Regions from separate parts of the Homo sapiens genome. Here region 1 is linked to region 2. The links are contacts of gene promoters, found by promoter capture Hi-C in blood cells and fetal thymus (Javierre and others, 2016). All regions are on one chromosome and are shown on one strand. The core of a region is centred on a gene start or on the middle of the fragment in contact, and the rest is flanking DNA. Distances in the headings are between cores, read along the strand shown. Region 1 holds the start of FERMT3 (FERM domain containing kindlin 3). Region 2 holds the start of MARK2 (microtubule affinity regulating kinase 2).

Region 1 (3,855 bases), core at 328-2,827, 370 kb before region 2:
CCCCTGGCAGCTCCCCTCACAGCCTCAGTCTTGTGGCCGGGCCGTTCTGGACCCTATCCTCTCCACAGTCGGACTGACCTCCTCCTGTGCTGCACATGGTGGCCTGGCGGGGTCTGAGGAAGCCTCCCCACCATCACCCACCCCCCACCCACTGGCAGCCCAGGCCCAGGCTCTTGGCCGGGACTGTGGTGGGCCTGTCTTCCGGCTCTGCCTATCGGGGTCTTCCTGCTGCTCTCTCAGGAAGGGGTAGCCCCCACCCCCGGCAGGGAAGGAAGATGAGGAGCCCCCGTGTCACTAGCCCCGTGGTCCTCCATGACTGATACCACAGCTGCTCTGCTGTAACTTCCTGTGGGGGCAGGGCCTTCCCACCCAGGCTGGGCCTGTCACCAACCTGCTCAAAGCTTCCGCCAAGGGGAGGGAGCGTGGGGGCAGGCCCCTGGGTCACCTAGACCCCCTCAGACCTCAGCAATGTGACTTCAGCCTCGGCCCAGACAAGACCACTCCTTCTGCCCCTATTGGTGGCTGAATGGAGGATTGTGGCTGCGTCTGATCCTTAGCAGACCAGCTGCAGCAGAAGGGAGGGAGGGAAGAGGGTGGGAGGGAGAGGAAGTTGGGGAAATGTCTTTTTTGGAACCAAATGATTAAGCTAATGCCTGAGTCACCGTGACACCATTATCGGGAGCTGAGCAGCAGGGATGGCCCGGAAGTGCCCAGAGACACCCGTGGCGGCCGCCCATGGTGCCGAGTTCAGCAAGCGGGCAGCGGACACTCACTGATCTGCTCCACAATCTTCAGGAGCACCCCGCCGATGTGCGACTCCCCAGTGACCCGCAGGGTGACCGACTCGGCCTCTGGGTCCTCCTCTCCCACAAACACCCGCAGCTCCCATGACGAGTCGATGTAGTCCCCGGAGGCTGTCTTCATCCCCGCCATGGCTGCGGCTGCTGCTACAGAGAGTGTGGAAGGAGGCAAGGTGGGCAGGCCCTGGTAGGCCTCCGGGTTTGGGCAGAAGAGCTCTGTGATGCCCTGGACACACCCAGAGGAAAGCCGCTCATGAAGGAGGGCGGGAGTGAGCACCCAGGCCAGCACGCCCGTGGTACCCTCAGACTCTCTCTCCAGCGCTGGCGCTTGAGCCGCGAGGGCCCTCAGAGACCATGTAGTCCAATCCGCTCCCATCCTACAGGCGGGCAGACTGAGGCCGGGTAAGAAGGGGCTCACTCAGGACCACCGTGCTCAATGCCAGCCCACAGCTCACTCCCAGACCCTCAGGGGCAGCTGCCCACTCTGGCCATGGCTTCGTACCCAGGCCAGGAAGTAGTTCCGATCCTGGCCCACAGCTCAGATGCCAACATCACAAACCAGCCAAAGCCTCTCCGGGGAGGTGGAAAGTTCAGGCTGCCGCATGGCGAGAGGCAGGCTGGGCAGAGGCTGCAGGAGGATAAGGAAGAGAAGGGCCCAGGGTCCCAGTGAGGCCTGAGCTTACCTTTCCTGGCAAGGGCTGGGGGCTGCAGGTGGGTCTCGGGCTACACCCCTGTGGGCCGTGGGCTTCCTGCCCTCCTTTCTCTTTGGAGCTTCCTTCAGGGCAGCCCTTGCTTGTGCCTTATCACGAGCAGGGCGGGTTCAGCCCCTCCCCAGGGCGGGCTGGCGCTGGGTGCAGGAAGCACACTGCCAGCCCACAGAGGGTTCCAGGGGCCCCCCCACCTTTGTCCCCAGAGAGCACAGGAAGCTAGGGAGAGCGGGGCTTAGCGACTCAACACCATAAAAACGCCCCCTTCCTCATTTGGAGGGAAGCTCAGTGCAAACTCAACAAGTCCCCCGGCTGTGTGTGTTCAGGGCTAGGTCCACTTTTGTGGGAAGTGTCTGCCATCCTCAGCCTGTCACATGAGGTGGGGACCTTGGGCTTTGAAACATCACTGGGCTGCCGGAGGGAGAGCCCAGGAGTCGACAGAGTGTATCCAGGTTATTTGGGACTCACAGGTTAAATCGGCTCCAGCCTGGCTATCCCTATCAACCAAGGATCCCTCAAGGCCCCAGAGGGAAACAAGTCCATTTTGCAGTTTTTCCTAGCTCCGCGTAGGGCTACCTTCAAACTCATGAACTCAGACCTGCCAGGTGAACAAGTGAACAGTACTTGGCCCAGACCATCCACAACCTCCCGGGCCCTCAGGTCACCCAGCTCCAAACACGACCCCTCCACTGTGCTCCACTTGGATGAGCCTCCCCGAGTCCCCACGAGGCTCACTCCCATCAAGTCCCTGCTTAGGTGACACCTCAGGGGTCTCTGGTGGTCTATACCCTCCTGCTCATCACCTGCCCTAGGATGTGGACTTCAGTAGAGCAAGGCACGTCCGCCACCAGCTCTGCGCAGGACAGCGGCCTTTCCAGTGAACACACTGGGGTTGGAGCATGCAGGGTGGGCAAGCCTGGGGGCGGCAGAGTCCTGCCAATGGGGGAGGCTACCTGAGCATCGCCACTCAGATGGGGAAGGGGGCGGCCTGCCGGGGATTCCCAGGGGAAAAGAAAGCTGATGAAACTAACAGCAGGAAGTCCAGCCAGCTGCTAGTCTCAGCGCCTTCCTAGCCCAGAAAGCAGCACTCTTGGAGCAAATGAGGAAGTTTTACTCCTGCCCCAAAGGCCTCCCCAGTCCAGGAAGAGAGCTTTAGAAAACGCAGCTTGTTGCAACCATGGAAAAGTGTAATTAAAGCTTAGCACCCTAAGTTCTCAGGTAAGAGCCGTGCATTAAAACCATCACCCAGGCCGGGCGCGGTGGCTCACGCCTGTTAACCCCAGCACTTTGGGAAGTCCAGGCGGGTGGATCACGAGGTCAGGAGATTGAGACCATCCTGGCTAACACGGTGAAACCCCGTCTCTACTAAAAATACAAACAAACAAACAAACAAAAAATTAGCCGGGCGTGGTGGCGGGCGCCTGTAGTCCCAGCTACTCGGGAGACTGAGGCAGGAGAATGGCGTGAACCCGGGAGGCAGAGCTTGCAGTGAGCTGGATCACGCCACTGCACTCCAGCCTGGGCGACAGAGAGAGACACCATCTCAAAAAATACAAACAAAAAAAACCCATCACCCAGTGGGGTGCAGTGGCTCATGCCTGTAATCCCAGCACTTTGGGAGGTTGAGGCGGGTGGATCACTTGAGGTCAGGAGTTCGAGACTAGCCTGGCCAATATGGCGAAACACCTGTCTCCACTAAAATATAATAATTAGCTGGGTGTGGTAGCAGGCTCCTGTAATCCCAGCTACTGGGGAGGCTGAGGTAGGAGAAGCGTTTGAACCCAGGAGGTGGAGGTTGCAGTGAGCCGAGATCACACCACTGCACTCCAGCCTGAGACTCCATCTCAAATAACAAAACAAAAACAATCCATGACCCAACTCCTAAATCTAACAGCAGCTAACAGCATAGCTGCCCTCTCCCCACAGAGGTCTCAGCATCTCACATTAGAATCCTGTTCTCTGGATCTCCACTATAACGTGGAGAATTAACAGCACCCAAAGCTTATCTGAACCTCTCATTGGTACTACTTGGGGTGGGGAAGCCTTCAGATTCCCTTCCAGCTGCTGAGCAACAGCGCCATCTGGCAACCTTCTTGGCAAAGCCATGGAGCTGTGCCAAGCCACAGCTTGGGACTCCTCCTAAGCCCGCCCCAAAGAGAAGAGCAAGATCAGGTTCCAGGAGCAGCCCCTGCAAGACAAACTCCTGGTTTAAAAAAAAAAAAAAAATCACTCAAGGCCAAAGCAACATATAACCACGCCCAACTGGCTTGTTTTATTGGAGAAGGGGACGCAGAATAAACAACGTGAGACAGCTGGGACCTGAGGCTGGAAGAACCCCCTCCCCTCCC
Region 2 (3,662 bases), core at 699-3,198:
AAGAAAGAAGGGAGTAAGAGGGAAACATAAAGGATGGAAGGAGGGGAAAGAAGGCAAAAAGCACAGCAGCCCCGGGGCAGAAGCACTTCTTTTTCAAGTCAAGTTTTTTTGGCCTAGTAAAGTTCTCCACCAAGAAAGGTATGACAGGCAGGGGACTCTGCACAGAGCAGTCAGCAAAGGACGCTAGAGATGGTGAAAGAAAGGGGAGGTGTGGAAAGTGGACGTCTCTGGGATCAAAAGTGAGATGACACAGAAAGGCTAAGACTTGGGTGAAAAACATAGCAGTGACTGCCAGGATGAGGGGGACCGTGTAGAGTCGTGAGGCTGAGGTGTAGCTCAAGAAACTAGCATGCAAAACACCTGGACTTCCTGGGCATTACAGAGACTTAGCCAATAGGAACAGAATGGATCCAAGCACGGTGTGGGGATACACAGGACATGAAGAAGGCAGGAGACTAATGCGGAGATGAAAGGCAACGCTGATTAAAAGGCACAGTAAGGAAGATGGGGTGAGGGTGGAGAAACAGGAAGGCAACAAGCAAGAAAGAAAATACTCTAAGTGCCAGGCACGGGAGTGAAGACACAGAAAGTCATCATGGTTTGTGTTCCAGCGTACGAAGACAGAAAGGCAAAAACTGTGATGCAGCGAGGTCTGGGAAAGGACTGAGCAACAGGTTGTGTTAATACGGTGGGGCCAAGTGTCTTTGGGTTGGGAGAAAGAGCCCAGTAGAAGGCTGGTAGAACACTCACAGAGAGAAACAAGAGGCCCAGGGACCTAAAAGCCAAACCCGAGGGGAAGAGAACAAGAGGGATCCAAAGACTCTGAAGGGAGTGATGATTGGAACCCCAAACGCAACCTGTGGGAAAACTATGCGCATGACAGCTGTGGGGAAACACGGAAGCGACAAATGCCAGCGCCAGGATCCAGGGAGCTCCTGGAGCAAAGAAGGGAAAGTGATGAGCAAAGAGTAGGCGAAGGATTTGGAAAGGTGATGAGGGTGGAGCTGGTGGGTTGCAAGCAAGAGGGAGAGCACAATTTGGAAAACGAAGAAGCAGGGTAGAAAAAGCTGGGGGAACTGCAAGGGGCCAGGGATCGAGAGCGCAGTCCAGGGCAAGGACCCTGAGGGTGATAACCCAGAGACTGGCAGAACCGGTGCGGGCGGAGGGGAAGCGAGGCAGGAGAGACGAAGGGAGAGGTGGACAACGATCTGTGGCAAATCGCGGGGTGCTGCTATTCGAGGAGCGGGAGGGTGGCTGCTTTAAGCGTGGGTGGAGGAAGACCAGAAAGGCCCCTGAGAGAAAAAGGGAAGAGAAAGGGAAGCTGGGGAGGTGACACGGAAGAGCGCAGGAGGGCGGTGAGGGGAGACGGGGGTTGGCAGAAAGACAAGTGTGCAGCTTGGAGTCAGGACGAGGTGGGTCCCAGGTCAGGACTCGGAAGCGGGATGTGCGGAGCCGGAGCCAGGAGCCGGATGACAGGGCAGCCGAGGCTTGCAGGATGGCAGCAGGGGCACGAGGAGAGCAGAAGAGGGAGGAGGCTCCGCAAGGTGCAAAGGGCCCAGCCAGAGAATTCGGGGAGCCCTCGGGGCTCCTTACCTGCTCCGTGTCCCTCTCGTTCAGCGTGGGTAGGGGGGTCCGAGCGCTGGACATGGCGCCGGTATCTCGGGGGAGGGAACCGAGAAGCTTGGAGGAAGGGAGGGAAGGGAAGGCGCGGAGCCCGGCCGGGCGGGGCTTCTCACAGCAGGAGCACCCGCCGCATGGGCCCCGGCCGGGGGTGCGGGGAGGCCGGGCAGCCGCTCACGCCAGCCCGGGGATGCGCCGCTCGGGCTAGGCCGCGCCGGCTCCGAGCGGCTCCGGACCGCACCCCCCCGACCCCCGGCTGGGCTGTGCCGCCTTTCGGCCGGGCCGCGCCGCTCCGCCTACTCTCTGCCGCCGCAGCCGGCCGCCTGCCTCGCTCCTCCCCTGCCCTCAGCGGCACTGCTCCGCGCCCGGCACACAGGCAGCCGCCGCCGGACCTGCTGCTCCCAACATGGCCGCCACCACCGCCGGCCCTCGGCTCTTTTCGCCGGCAGCAGCCGGAAACATCCGAAGCGGCTAGAAACGGGAGGTGGGGCGCGCCTTCTCCTCCCGGCCACAGACTACGGGTGAATTCCGGAAACAGCCGAAGAAGGTAAACCCCGGGGACGCGCTCTCCTCCTCGATTCCGAAGACGAAGCTTCGGCTCTGTTTACGGAAATCCACGAAGCGACCCCGGGTGCCTACCCCCCGCCCCCGTCCACGGCCATCCAGCCACGCCCACCGGCCTTTCCCCGCCCACTTCAAGGGGGCTTTCGGCAGTTTCCGGAAATACCCGAAGCTGCTCCGCGTGCTGAGCCGGCCACGCCCCCTCCCACAGCCCTGCCGAGGGCGGTCGTCGGCCATTTCCGGCAACACCCGAGGCCCTCCGAGCACCCGGTCGTTTCCCCGGGTGGCTCTCGGAGTCTGATTCGCTTCGTGTCTTTCCGTCAGTTTTCGGGCATTTTCAAACCTTGAACAGGAAGCGTGGGTCACCTGTCTGTGCTTGTGATTTGACTAAATACAAAACAAGATTGTTAGCCGTCCCTGTGATTGGCATCCTCTGGTTCTATAGCAGCTTCCTGTCTGCATTTCTGTCCATCTGTCGGTCAGCTCATAAAATTCATCTTCTTTTTATCATCTAGCCTATCAATATACCTGTCAAATGCAGCATCAGTCTATTGCCTGTCTGCCACCGTCTATCTTGGCTTCTGTGGATTCATCCGTGCATTCCCGCATCTAGTCCGCAGGGCTCGGCAAGGCCCCAGGCAGGCCCAGGGCAGCGTCCTCTGCACCGGATGCGGGAGCGTCCAGGGCCCTGCATTTCAGCCCCAGCTCTGCCAAGTGCCAATGCTGCGTGATCTTGGAAAAATCACATAACATCACTGAGTTTAGGCTCCTCTTTCCTTTGCCTTTGCTCCTGCGTTGACATTCAAAATGACATTTCTGAATTCCAGTTACCTTTTAAAATGCCTCTGCAAGATAAGGCATTTAAAGTTTCTTTTCTTTCCTCCTCTGGGCCTCATTTTCCCCATCAGTAAAGTGAAGCCATTGGATTCATGAACTCGGAGGTCCTTCTCAGCTTTGGAGAGCCCTTGACTAACAGGAAGTCTGTATGGCAACTGCAGTCCATTCCTCACTTCCCCTTACACTGCGTTACCAAGGACAGGGAGTATCCTGGGCTGATTTCCCCAGCGCCAAGCTGTCCTCACCCATAGTACCTGGAACACGTTGGAACCACACCCTCCCATCAGTGGCTTAAGGTGGGCAGGAGGCAGAGGCCCCGCAGGAGTCAGAAACCAGACTCAGGCAACAGGTTCCCAAAGGTACAGGAGCAGAGAGGCTCCAGGAGTTATTGGGAAAACTGCTGATTGGACCCCTGCTACTTGACCTCCAACTCCCAGCTACAGCATCTTGAGCCAGCCTTCATCCCATCAATCAGAGAAATAGGCATCTGAGCAGATGTAATTACCAGGGTATGAAAGTACTTCCTAAGGCAACAGGTATCACTACACTCTTAGTAAATCCTGGGACTTCAGCACTGCTCCCCATGCCCCATACCAGCTCTATTCAGGCACCCAACCGTTGAGGAAGAAGGTGAAGGCACACCC

Evidence for each region. Contacts are between HindIII fragments. The CHiCAGO score rates a contact against its expected background, and 5 or more counts as called.
Region 1: a contact is called between the fragment with the promoter of FERMT3 here and a fragment that was not itself captured in region 2, in 3 of 17 cell types (erythroblasts, total CD8 T cells and fetal thymus). The highest score is 6.0, in erythroblasts.

Annotation. Positions count from the first base shown.
Region 1 is chr11:64,204,443-64,208,297 of GRCh38, reverse strand. FERMT3 (FERM domain containing kindlin 3) reads right to left here and starts at 1,577. Exons shown (of 15, transcript NM_031471.6): 1 at 1,484-1,577; 2 at 774-947. The coding sequence starts at 933. STIP1 (stress induced phosphoprotein 1) reads right to left here. Exons shown (of 14, transcript NM_006819.3): 14 at 3,755-3,855. RefSeq lists enhancers at 929-1,008, 1,329-1,408, 1,843-2,405, 2,309-2,568, 2,406-2,968. The HindIII fragment of the contact is 2,303 bases long and covers 404-2,706 here.
Region 2 is chr11:63,837,492-63,841,153 of GRCh38, reverse strand. MARK2 (microtubule affinity regulating kinase 2) reads right to left here and starts at 2,044. Exons shown (of 19, transcript NM_001039469.3): 1 at 1,594-2,044. The coding sequence starts at 1,647. RefSeq lists a silencer at 1,710-1,949 and enhancers at 1,960-2,109, 2,370-3,358. The HindIII fragment of the contact is 532 bases long and covers 1,683-2,214 here.